Regions from separate parts of the Homo sapiens genome. Here region 2 is linked to region 1. Evidence: promoter capture Hi-C in 16 types of primary human blood cells and fetal thymus (Javierre and others, 2016). All regions are on one chromosome and are shown on one strand. Each heading gives the region's core, a stretch centred on a gene start or on the middle of the fragment in contact. The rest is flanking DNA. Distances are from core to core; before and after follow the strand shown.

Region 1 (6,290 bases), core at 1,664-4,163:
TGCTCACCCTCCTCCCCTGCAACCCACTGAGGATCTAACACCCCTCTCTTGGTATACGAATGCCCTCCTCACTCTTTTGTGCTCCAACACTTCAGGCTACGCAGTCACCACTGCTCCCTCTGCCACGCCACTTCCCAAAATGCATGCCCTTCTCATTCTGCCTGGGATCCAACACCCTGCACCAGACCAAGCCTTTAAAATACCACAACTGGCTCAGTTCCATCAGCCCATGCAAGATCTGTATCAGTGAAAAAGTGCAGGCATCTGGACATCCTGAGTTCTAAATAAATAAAAATTGTGAAGAATCAGATAAAATGAAGGGAACAGAAATTGGGTGATGACAAAGATATGCTTTGTCTATTTTGAATTTTTACCTTATACGAGATACAGGTTTTTAAAAAGGAGCAGAATTGTTTTCTCCCTTCCTATTCATGACTCCAAATTTACCCTAGTATTATTAGGTCACTACATTCTTATCACTTAAATACTAATTTCTATGAGGAAATCCATTTCAAGTTGTAAACTAGTGACAATATTTTTTAAAAACTATACCCAATTATGTAACTTTCATTAAACCTTTTACCTAAGAGAATTCAAAGTACTTCAAAATCTGTTTATAAGTGGCAGATTATTTCCACTAAGTAGGGTAAGATAGCCACAAAGAAAGTAATTTTGGACAATATTAAAAATGAATTCTGAAAAGGACATACTTACAGAAACATGATACTTCATGTAATAATGAATAATCCAGACAGGTACAAGTACATGAGTGAAAACAAAGATACTCTTTTTGTATACCCCATGGACCTGGGGGGAAAAACACATACACAAAATAAACATATCCCATTTTTTATATTTATGGCAGAACAAAAGGCATCAATGATGTAACAATGCCATGACTATTTTACAAAACTCTAAATGGCACATATTTTCTTATAGTCTGTAGGTAACCTCATCTACTCAAATATTCTTAGTAAATGCAGAGTCTGCTAGAAGATACCTACAAAGTCCAGACCAAAATGCTTAAGCAGTATTTTGCAAGACTATAACAAGGCATTTATAGATTTTTTAAAGACTTCCAAAAATATCCTTATTATAAGTTTGTTAAAGATAAAATATAGCAAAATAATGAAAGAATAATTTTAATGTATTTAACCAGAGTAATCAAACCTACAGAATTTTTCAGGTATAGTCATCTCCCTTATTTATTGATCAATGACACTCACATCATTTTAGGTATAAGGCAGACAACCTTGACAACGCCAATGCTGGAAAAAGGACGTTTTACATACTAAGATGGGGTGTCCCAAACTCACTCCAAAATGCCCTCTGCAACACTATTTTAAAAAAGAACTAAAAATGGAACTTTCCCATGTCTTCCAACTTGATTAAAAAACACCTATCCATTCAAGGAAGGGACAATCCAGAATCTAAGAATTATAACAGATATGATTATAAAAGAATAAATTAAAGTAAGGTAAGGTGAACTTCGACACATTATTATTTATTTACTTCCTTATATCACTTGCTGATGGATGGGATGTCAACTTTAAATCAGTGACTGCCAATATTCCGATAATGTCAGGGATACAAAGGGTGGGAGAAGAGTTGAATTTTACCACCATAAATAAGTATCCAATATCACTTTCTCAGAAAAATTTTCAACAATTCTATTGCACTAGACTTTGTAGCACAGTAAGAATCAGATACATGTTGATTACAATATGAACTCATATTCAATTCCTAGCTCCCTGACCACCAGCAAATCACTGAAGCTTTGTAGGCCTCAGTTTCTTCACATTTAAAATGAGGATTAGGAATATCTACCTTACAGGAATAAAGAAATGAAGTAACACATGTAAAACCCCCAGTAGAGTGCCAAGCACACAGCAAGCACCCGTGTGTTACGTAGTATTGTTACTACTATTATCCTGTCATCAGTAAGTGTTGCAGGTAACTGAAAGCAATTCTGAGATGTTTATCATCCATAACAGTCCTCAAGAAAATACCCAGAGGCCTTGAAAATAAAGTTCTTGAATGAGTGATTTTCTTCAAAGCCCAAAATGCGATTTTTTTAATGAAACACTGTGTTAAAAGTACAGAACGGTAGTTTAGAAAGGTAGCTCTTGAATGTGACTCACAAGGCATACCAACAGGACCCTGTCTTTTACGGGGATCACATGGGGCTGTACTATCAGCTAGGGGCTGGCTGTGCCCTCTGGTGGTTGGATACTGTGTTACTTGGTCTCTAGAACCTCACACTTAAAAGTCAGACAAGTGTCCTCAAATACTTAAATCACAGAATTTTAATTCTAGCGAGTCCTTGGTTATTATTCTGAGGGAAGATTTCTACAGTCAAAAGAGAACCAAACGTGCAGCGTCCTGGAAAACCTAAGTATTAAAATTCGCCCCCGTCCACTGTACTTGACAGTAAAAGGCATGATTCTCTCAAAGCCATACATATTCCTGGACTCCTGCCTCCCGAGACTCCAGGAGGACTCTCGGGACTGGCCAGTGTCCCAGAGCACTGAGCGTTATCAGTCCTTGGTGTGGCTGCAGGGAGCGGACGTTCAGTGTTCAGGCTGCCGGCAGCAGTGGGATGTGTTGGGGGGGACCGGAGAGGTCTGTCACTCACCATTTTCCTCCAAGGGGATTTATTCTCCAAAAATTTATTCCAGAATTTCTCCATAGGCCCCATCTTCTGTGGGGGCAGCACCGGCTCCCGAGGGCTCAGCTCCTGGTCCTTCAGCCATCGCCTTCTCAGCTCTCGCAGCTGCTGCAGCCGCAGTTTCTCATCCGGAGTGTACCCCGTCATGTCGCCGCTGGTACCAACGCAAAAGGACACGGCGCACCCTCGAACTACGGACTAGTTACTTAAGCGCGCTCCCGCTCTGCAAAGCGACCTTGCGGGAACGCCGAGCGCCGCGCGCGGTTATTACGTCACATCCTGGTTCCGCCTCTGCAAGGGCCCCAGATTCCTCGCGAGGAAAGCAGTGTGTGGGCATGCACAAAGGTCTCCACCTCCAGTTCTCTCTACGCCCACCTCCGCTATACCCGACCAAATTAGGACCGGGTGGGGACAAGGAGTACTCGTAGTTGTGGGGCCTGAGGAAAGTGACAGATTAGACGAAAGTATGCTAAATTAGAGGACTGGAGGTTTTGCTAAGGAAGAACTTGTATGCTGGGAGGAGGAAGGATAAGCATAAATGTTTCAGTGAATATGCTGGCCAGATTCAAAATTATTTGCTTGCCTCTCCCACCTTGGAATGACCTAGAGAGTGTATGAAAATAGTTACATCCCAGTTCAAATCCCAGCTATGCCAGTAACTGCTGAAGTGCCCTGGGCAGCTGTCTCATCTGTCCCTCCATCTGTACAGGAATAGTGAAAAGAGTAGCTTAATATCTAGCAAAATTGCATAGATGAATTCATGCTTTCACCCAAAAATACGTGTGGTGAAAATATGAAAGAGCATGCACGACTATTCAGCACGATTCATAATACCAAAATATTGGAAATTACCCCCAAATTCCTAAATAAAGGACTGCTTGAATAAATTGTAGTACAACAGTCAAAAGACAGCATTACAACGAATTAGTTTAAAAATCTTAATTGACTCTTATTCGTGATTCTAGAATCAAAAAACACCTCATTCTATAAAGTAGAATGAGTGTTCTGATCAGCTGAGCAGAGGCGGTTGGTTTTATTGGCAAATAGGGGCTGAAGAAAGCAGAAACCGAACAAAAAGTGGACTCATCGTTTCAAAGTTACTTTTAGGGTTAAAGCAGAAGAAACTTCCTTGTTTCACTGACTCAGACTTAAGGGAATTTCCTATTTTTTGGGAAACTGGCCCATTTCAAAGTTCAGTTTGATTGTGTGGTACTTAGCACAAACGACTCCATTCTGGTTTGGTCTGGTCTGCTGGGGCCTAGTGCGTGAAGCTAGTCCAAAACAGTGGCTTCCCAAAAACTTTCACACAACAAAGCAATGAAATGCTAATACAATCGTCAAAAGTAATAAGGAAGAACTCTATATACATCTGTGGTGTGATCTCCAGAATACATTACAAAGTGGAAAAAAAATGGATAGGAATTTGTACAGTATGCTTTTACCCAAAAAGAGAAAGATGGTGGTAATTTCAATATATATACATATTTTCTTAAATTTTCAAAATAATGGGAATGAAAACAATTGAGGTTTTTAAAGATGCTACCTATGGTGGAGGAAATAAATAGGATAGAGGAGACAGGGATAGAATCTAGACATCTCTGGAAACATCTTACTTCATAAATTTGACTTTAGAACCAAGTAAATATTTCATATTGTGAAATTAAATTTAGCTTAAAGATGTCTCCGTATTTTGAGTCCTTATATAATGAACTGCAACCCAACTTAGTATGCAATTTAACTCACAGCCTAACTTAGGAATATACTTCTGTAACAAATAACTGAGTCTCAGCCAATCATCACAGGTGGTCAACTGATCAGCCCATGTTCAAATAAGGCAAAGGCCAACCTGTAGCCAATCAAGCTGTTTCTGTATCTCATTTCTGTTTTTTTTCTATGCGTGCTGCCTGGCCTCTTTGTGGAACGATACTTTCTGAACCTCCTCTGGTTCTGAGGGCTGCCTGATTCTCAAATTGGTCATTGCTCAATTAATTTCTGCTAAATTTAATTTTTCTAAAGTTTTAATTTTAACAATATCATTACAAAACAAAATTAAATTTACAAAAAGCAGTCCATAAAAATCAAGTAAAAACCAGTAGCTCTTAATTGGTCCACTTGGTGGCATAATCTCAAAGGTACACATCATTCTAAATACAATAGCCCTTGTAACAACGCTAGGGTTAGTAGTGCCAATCCCCTCCACTTGGCACAATCAAACATCCACATATAACTTTGGACTCTCCAAAAACTTAATAGCCTACTCTTGACCAGAAGTTTTACTGATAACATACAGTCAATTAACACACATTTTGTATATGTATTATATGCTATATTATTACAATAAAGTAAGCCAGAGAAAATAAACTGTTATTAAGAAAATCATAAGGAGGCAAAGAGAGGGGTTGGTCTTGCTGTCTTGGGGTGCCAGAGGCAGAAGAAAATCCACGTATGATGGACCCTCGAAGTTCAACCTGTTTTTTTCAAGGATCAACTATAACTTTAAACCATTGAATTATTGTAAATCCACTGAGAGACAACCCGCAAAAACAAACAAAAAAAAAACAACTTAAAAAAAATCTTGGCCAGGCGTGGTGGCTCACGCCTGTAATCCCAGCACTTTGGGAGGCCAAGGCGGGTGGATCACAAGGTCAGGAGATCGAGACCTTCCTAGCTAACACAGTGAAACCCCGTCTCTACTAAAAATACAAAAATTAGCCAGGTGTGGTGGCAGGCGCCTGTAGTCCTAGCTACTCGGGAGGCTGAGGCAGGAGAATGGCATGAACCTGGGAGGCGGAGCTTGCAGTGAGCCGAGATCGCGCCACTGCACTCCAGCCTGGGTGACAGAGAGAGGCTCCGTCTCAAAAAAAAAAAAAAAAAATCTTAAACTGTTTTAAATAATCATATTGAGGATAGTGGTGTTGATCATGGTATTGTTAATCTGACACTGAAAATAACTGTTTACGTGAGTGTTGTAAAAACTGATCTTTTTTGGTATGGGGAGACATGTATATAAATTGTATGTGTTTAAGTAAAAATCCTATAGTCAAATTGTGAACAGGAAGAATCAGTATGAACTCATATTGTATTTTATCTTTAAAAATGTATATAATTTTGTCTTAGCTCTACCTGTTGATAATGGCCTAAAAGAAATTGGCAAACCAATAATCATGAGCATCTTTTGTTCTTAGGTTGTGATCTCTCATGTACATTTTCCACTGAAAGGAACTAGGACTGCTTGAAGCAGCAGTTCTCAAAAGTTTTGCTTCCAAGACTTCTTCAAATTCTTAAAAATTGTTGGAGATCCCAAAGAGCTTTTGTTTATGTGGGTTAATCTATTGATGTTTACTGCATTAGAAATTAAACATTTTAAAGTAACAATGTACTCATTAAAAAATTAGTGAGAAGAGTGCCATTGTTTTACATTTTTGTAAATGTCTTTAATGTCTTGCTTCATAAATGACAGCAGAATTGTTATAACTGCTTCTGCATTCAATCATAATGTAACACATCGTATAGCCTCTGAAAATCCCCATGTATATTTGTGAGAGAATGAGACTTTATAAGGGTAAAATAAAAAGGGCAAACAGTCAGTCATCTGTATCTGTGGGTTCCACAATTACATATT
Region 2 (6,699 bases), core at 3,966-6,465, 700 kb after region 1:
GGGAGGCTGAGGTGGGTGGATCACCTGATGTCAGGAGTTTGAGACCAGCCTGACCAACATGGTGAAACCCTGCCTCTACTAAAAATACAAAAATTAGCTGGGTGTGGTGGCGTGCACCTGTAATCCCAGCTACCTGGGAGTCTGAGGCAGGAGAATCACTTGAACCCAGGAGGCGGAGGTTGCAGTGAGCCATTGCACTCCAGCCTGGGCAGCAAGAGTGCAACTCTGTCTCAAATAAATAAATAAATAAATAAAGACAATTTAACCAACATGACTTACTAAAACATTGTGTTTTCTTCTTCCTTTTCTTAGGTTGATGCTATGAAACTGGGAGTAAAGGAAATGAAGAAGGCATACAAGCAAGTGAAGATCGACCAGATTGAGGTGAGACATATGCTAGTTTCTGCAAGAATGTGCACTAGTTTCTGAGAGAATCCAAACGAGTGTGCATGTGATAGGAAGAGCACAGGAGAGGAACTGAATCTTGGGGCTGCCATTTACTAGTAGAGTAACTTCGAGAAAGGGTACCAAATGTCTCAGTTTCCTCAGTGCAAGGATCCTAATACCACATACAGTTACAGACAGTCCCCGATTTAAGACGGTTCAACTTAACGATTTTTCAGTTTGATGATGGTGCGAAAACTATATGCATTCAGTAGAAACCATACTTTGAGTATCCACGTAACCATTCTGTTTTTCAGTTTCCATACAATATTTAATAAATTACATGAGATACTCAACACTTTATTATGAAATAGGCTGTTAGATGATTTTGCCCAACTGTAGGCTAATGTAAGTGTTCTGAGCACAATTAAGGTAGGCTAGGCTAAGTGATGGTTCAGTAAGTTAGGTGTATTGAATGCACTTTCTACTTAAGATATTTTGAACTTAAGATGGGTTTATCAGGATGTAACCCTATCATAAGTCAAGGAACTTCTATATTATGAGGATGAAATAAATGAGCTAGTATCTCTACACACACAATGCCTGGCCTATGATAAGCATCCAGTAGTTACTTTTAACTAATTCGATGATATTTAGTCTGTTTCTTCGATGGTAGTGGTGTTGTTGCCTATTCCCAGGATTGTCATGAGTGTTAAATGAAGGTATGTAGGTAAAGTGTATGTAAAATGTTTAACCCAACTCCTGGCGTGGTAGACTTGGTTCCCTTTTCTAGTAATTCTCTTTAGATTTTTAATAATAATGTCATTAGTTCCTTAAAGTTAGCATTTCTTATTGGAATTGGGTTTTGACCAGGGAGATGAGCCCTAAGAGCTTGGCAGCTCTCAGCTGTCAGATGAACAGCCCAGGTGGCAAGAAGAGATAGCAGAGGGAGTGAGTGGTGACTGGTCAGAGGAGAGAGGCTTCCTTTCTGCATATAAAATGGCGCTCTTGACCTTTACCCCCCTGACTAGAATGTCCATTTCCTTGAATGCAGGGACTTGATTTTGTTCACTACTGTGTCCCCAGTGCCCATAACAATGCCCTGCCATGGTTGGTGCTCAGAAAGTATTTGCTGGTTGATGAATCAGAGGCTATAAAGGGAGATAAAGCAAAAAAAAAAAAAAAAAGAGAGAAAGCAGTACAGCCTGATTCAAGCAGTGTTTGTTAAAATACCAGGCATTTTATTGCCTCTGCAAAGATATTCTCTCATAAAGCTGATCTTTAGTAAGAGTGAAGGCAGGCTGGGCATGGTGGCTCACTCCTGTAATCCCAGCACTTTGGGAGGCCGAGGCGGGTGGATCATGAGGTCAGGAGATCAAGACCATCCTGGCTAACACGGTGAAACCCTGTCTCTACCAAAAATACAAAAAATTAGCCGAGCATGGTGGTGTGTGCCTGTAGTCCCAGCTGTTCGGGAGGCTGAGGCAGGAGAATGGCAACCCGAGAGCAGAGCTTGCAGTGAGCCAAGATTGCGCCACTGCACTCCAGCCTGGGCGACAGAGCAAGACTCCGTCTCAAAAAAAAATAAAAGAGTGAAGGCATTCCTCCCCTCTCTTATTTTTTCAAGCATCCCTCTTAGGTTGCCTTTGTCTGTCTCTAATCCTCCACAAATGTTTGCATACATGGAATTAAACTTTGTGATACTCTCTAAGAGCTTCACTGATGAAAGTGTTCTGTATATGCTTGTCTTTTTTTGTTGTTGTTGTTGAGACAGAGTCTCGTTCTGTCACCAAGGCTGGAGTGCAGTGTGATCTCGGCTCACTGCAACCTCCGCCTCCTGGGTTCAAGCAATTCTCCTGCCTCAGCCTTCCAGATAGCTGGGATTACAGGTGCCTGCCACCACACCCAGCTAATTTTTGTATTTTTTTAGTAGAGATGGGGTTTCGCCATGTTGGCCAGGCTAGTCTCAAACTCCTGACCTCAAGTGATCCGCCCACCTCGGCCTCCCAAAGTGCTGGGATTACAGGTATGAGCCACCACTCCCAGCCATTTTTTTTTTTGTATAATATCATTTGCCATTAAAATATAATGAAATGCAATGGTATTTTCTGCTTTTAGGGTTCCTTGTGTTTTAATTAAAGCTATTTAATAGGAACAAAAGAGAAACTTTGGTCTTGGTGAATGCTTTGTATGTCTCTTCGTCTTTCACCTGTGGTTGTCTGTCTGTCTCCCTGCCTAATTATCCTTTTCCTGTCCTCCAATAGATTGCCAGCATGACAGGTGGAGAGCCCCTTTAACTCTTTTGGTGTGTATGTGTCTTTGGTTAGATCGAATTTTTTGGTCAGATTTATTTTCCTAAAATGCTTTACTTAGAAAATATTTTCATTGTTTTATAGCTTTAACTTTTTATTTTGCTGTTGTGTGTGTGTAGGTCTGTTTTTCTTCTGCTTTTTCAGTTGCTGCATATCACTTTGTCAATGTTCTTTTTAGCTTAGTGCTTTTTTTTTTTATATTGCTTTTGTTTGTTTATACAATAGAGAACCAGTTAATGGTTTGTGGGATAAATTTTTTCTGTGTCTATCCTGGAGTCTTGCTAGGAATCCTATTCATAGATGATCCGGGAAGATGTGTCTTGATGTGTAATACTATTGTATAAGCTTGACTTGATTAGCTTTCTCTATGTTATTTTCATTGTCTTTAATTATTACTCAGCCAGTGCTTCTCTGTGTAGCAGAGTGTTAAATATGCATATAATTTGGCAGTTTGGTACTTGGAAATACAGAAAATCAAAGTTTAAAAAAAAAATTTCCCCTCCATTTTACTACCCTTTTCACCTTTCACCTTTATGGGGGCCAGGAAGGAATTTTCTTTTTTCTTTTTTTTTTGCTGTTGCCTAGGCTGGATTATAGTGACTCAGTCTCAGCTCACCGCAACCTCTGCCTCCCAGGCTCAAGCCATCCTTCTACTTCAGTCTCCTGAGTAGCTGAGACTACAAGCATGCACCATGCCCAGCTAATTTTTGTATTTTTTTGTGGAGATGAGGTTTTGCCATGTTCCCCAGGTTGGTCCCAAACTCCTGAGCTCAAGTGATCCGCCCTCTTTTGCCTCCCAGAGTGCTTGGATTACAGGCATAAGCTACTGCACCCAGCAGAATTTTCAAATGTCTTGCATTGCTTTAGAAATTCTGAAGGATAAATGGTGCTGATTTGGTCCTTTTGCTTTATCAACACTAGTTCTGTTCCTGTCTGTGTGGAATTTTAGTATATGAAGAGTGTATTGTTGTTCCGCACATAATTAACACAGTAAAATATATATAGTATTAGGTGCTTAGTGTTTTACATATATTATTGCAATAAATCCTTACAATAACCCCAGTGAGATATGGCTATTTTATTTATTTATTTATTTTTGAAACAGAGTCTCGCTCTGTCGCCCAGGCTAGAGTGCGGTGGCGCGATCTCGGCTCACTGCAACCTCTGCCTCCTGGGTTCAAACGATTTTCCTGCCTCAGCCTCCCGGGTAGCTGGGATTACAGGCGCATGCCACCATGCCTGGCTAATTTTTTGTATTTTAGTAGAGATGGGGTTTCACCATGTTGCCCAGACTGGTTGCGAACTCCTGAGTTCAGGCAATCCACCCACTTTGGCCTCCTGAAGTGCTAGGATTACAGGCATGAGCCACCGCGCCTGGCCAGATATGGCTATTAATAATTCCATTTTACAGATGAGGAAAATAAGGCTTAGAGACATTACTTCTCATTGAGTAATGGCAAAATTGAACTTGGGTATATCTGACTCCAGAGTCTCACTCCTAACCATTATACCAGCTGCCCTTTGTTATGCTATACCACTTCTTAGATTGGTTTCATATTACAGTTTACCCTTGAACAGCAAATGCAGTTTGAACTGCACGAGTCACTTATATGCAGATATTTTTCAACCAAACGAGGATCGAAAATATAGTGTTTGCAGGATGCGAAACCACCCATATGGAGGACCAACTGGGGACTTGGGTGTGGGCAGATTTTGGTATAGACAGACATCCTGGAACCAATCCCTTGCGTGTACCAAGGGACAACTGCATTTTTAGCCTTGTAGTAATCTCCCAGTTAAGCACAGGTAGATTATTCACACAGGGTTTATGCCCTTGGTCCATTTTTTTCACCAGCCTTGTCTTGGCTGTGACACCTATCCTGATTCCCTTTCTGATTCTCCATCCAGGGTGGGCCCATGTACAACTCACTTTTTGTACCACTTCAGTTGTTTCTACTCTTGCCTCCTTTCTCTACACAGTGTAATCTGTCTTTCGCTGACTTGAGAAGAATAATTTGCTTGTCTCAGTAACCTCCCTGTCTTCATTAACTAGAAAATGATTGACAGTTTAGATCAAGATAATTGCTTGATTTAATGTTTCAAGTAAAACTTTCTGTAATAGTAGACAGCTGACAATCATCTATTCTCACATAGGACTTTGGGCTTCCATGAGGCACTTTAAAATCAAATCCAGCCGGGCACAGTAGCTCATGCCTATAATCCCAGCACTTTGGGAGGCTGAGGTGGGCAGATCACCTGAGGTCAGGAGTTTGAGACCAGCCTAACCAACATGGCAAAACCCCACCTCTACTGAAAATACAAAAATTAGCTAGGCGTGGTGGTGCACACTTGTAATGTCAGCTATTTGGAGGCTGAGGCAGGAGAATCACTTGAACCCGGGAAGTGAAGGTTGCAGTGAGCTGAGATTGCACCATTGCACTCCAGCCTGGGTGACAAAGCGAGACTCCATCTCAATAAATAAATAAATAAAGTAAAAAATAAAATGAGAGATCATCAATTCTATTCTTTAAGTTCACATTTTGCCACCAAAAATAGGCAAGGGATTATGTGGGTCAGTAACATTCATAATTATTGTTAGAGGAGGTCTTTGGGCTTATGGTTTTTAATTCTTTAAGCATTCTCTCATACTTTTAATTAGAAGGGATGTTTTAAGAGTTACTTGAACCTGTCCTTTAGAGGAGTGTCTGCTCAGTTGTTAACATTAAAAAATTGCTAGCCAAAGACTGGGATAGGGGAGGTGAACTAACAGTTGTTGAGAACTGTTTATGTGCTTGGCATTTTATATACATTATCTTTTTAAAAATTGCTCATGTCTAGATTCAAAGGAGAATGTAGGGGAAAAGGGTAGTTAAAAGAAAATGGTAAATGAGAGAAAATCCTCTCATATATATTTCCGTAGGATTTACAAGACCAGCTAGAGGATATGATGGAAGATGCAAATGAAATCCAAGAAGCACTGAGTCGCAGTTATGGCACCCCAGAACTGGATGAAGATGATTTAGAAGCAGGTAAGTTATGAGAAAAGTAATGTATATTTAGTTTTGGAGTCCAAAAGCAACAGCTGCCTGGGACCTTTTCTCAAATGCTAGTGAAAATTTCTATCAGGATTTCCTGAAGGTTAGTTTATGGTACTGTCCCTGGGCAAAGAGCTTGTGAGGCAGCCACATCAGATTGCATACTCCACCAACAACAGTGGGATGGATCAACTCTGAAGGAAGTCCAGGTACAGGCTGACCTGGTGCTTGGTATCTGTAAGTGTCCTCCACGTGGCCTTTCCTTGCTGTATTCCTTTTGATTTTGTTCTCACTATTTTCCTAGTTGGAGTCCTCTCCCTCAGAACAGCAAAACCAATTAAGAAACAATAATTAGGGCCAGGTGCCCTAATCCCAGCACTTTGGAAGGCCAAGGTAGGCGGATCCACTCAAGCCCAGGAGTTCGAGACCTGGCTGAGCAATATGGCGTCACCCCGTCTCTATAAAAAATACAAAAATTACCCAGGCATGGTGGTGTGCGCCTGCGGTCCTAGCTACTCGGGAGGCTGAGGTGGAAGGATCACTTGATCCCAGGAGGTAGAGGTTCCAGTGAGCCGAGATTGCCCCACTGCAGCCTGGGCAACAGAGTGAGACCTTCTCTCAAAAAAAAAAAAAAAAAAAAAAAAGAATAGTTGGCAAATACTTAGTGTGCATCTACTCTATGCCAGGTACTCTACTAGGTGGTGGGAATTTAGCACTGAATAAAAATGCAGCCCCTACATTCATGAACCTTCTCTAGCAGTGGAAGACATAAATGGTTTGCTTCAAGTAATTAATTACTAGAGCACAGACTATAGGGAAGAAGTATGGGGTAGCATGGGAGCACATACTAAGGGACTCTAACCTAGTTAGTAGTGGGAGAGAGGCATGGGACCTGAAGGGTGAGTAGGGGATAGCATGAAAAAATGAGAAGGGTTGTCGAATGGCCTCAGGGAGAGCAGTCTGGAAGT

Evidence for each region. Contacts are between HindIII fragments. The CHiCAGO score rates a contact against its expected background, and 5 or more counts as called.
Region 2: a fragment that was not itself captured here is called in contact with the fragment with the promoter of NDUFB6 in region 1 in 1 of 17 cell types (monocytes); the score reaches 7.6 in monocytes.

The regions. Positions count from the first base shown.
Region 1 is chr9:32,570,246-32,576,535 of GRCh38, forward strand. NDUFB6 (NADH:ubiquinone oxidoreductase subunit B6) reads right to left here and starts at 2,914. Exons shown (of 4, transcript NM_002493.5): 1 at 2,636-2,914; 2 at 715-807. The coding sequence starts at 2,815. RefSeq lists enhancers at 2,462-3,001, 3,272-3,321. The HindIII fragment of the contact is 6,496 bases long and covers 1,774-6,290 here.
Region 2 is chr9:33,270,840-33,277,538 of GRCh38, forward strand. It overlaps CHMP5 (charged multivesicular body protein 5), which reads left to right. Exons shown (of 8, transcript NM_016410.6): 5 at 313-384; 6 at 5,617-5,725. Among named protein-coding and RNA genes, the nearest start is that of CHMP5, 9.1 kb to the left of the region's middle. The HindIII fragment of the contact is 4,352 bases long and covers 3,040-6,699 here.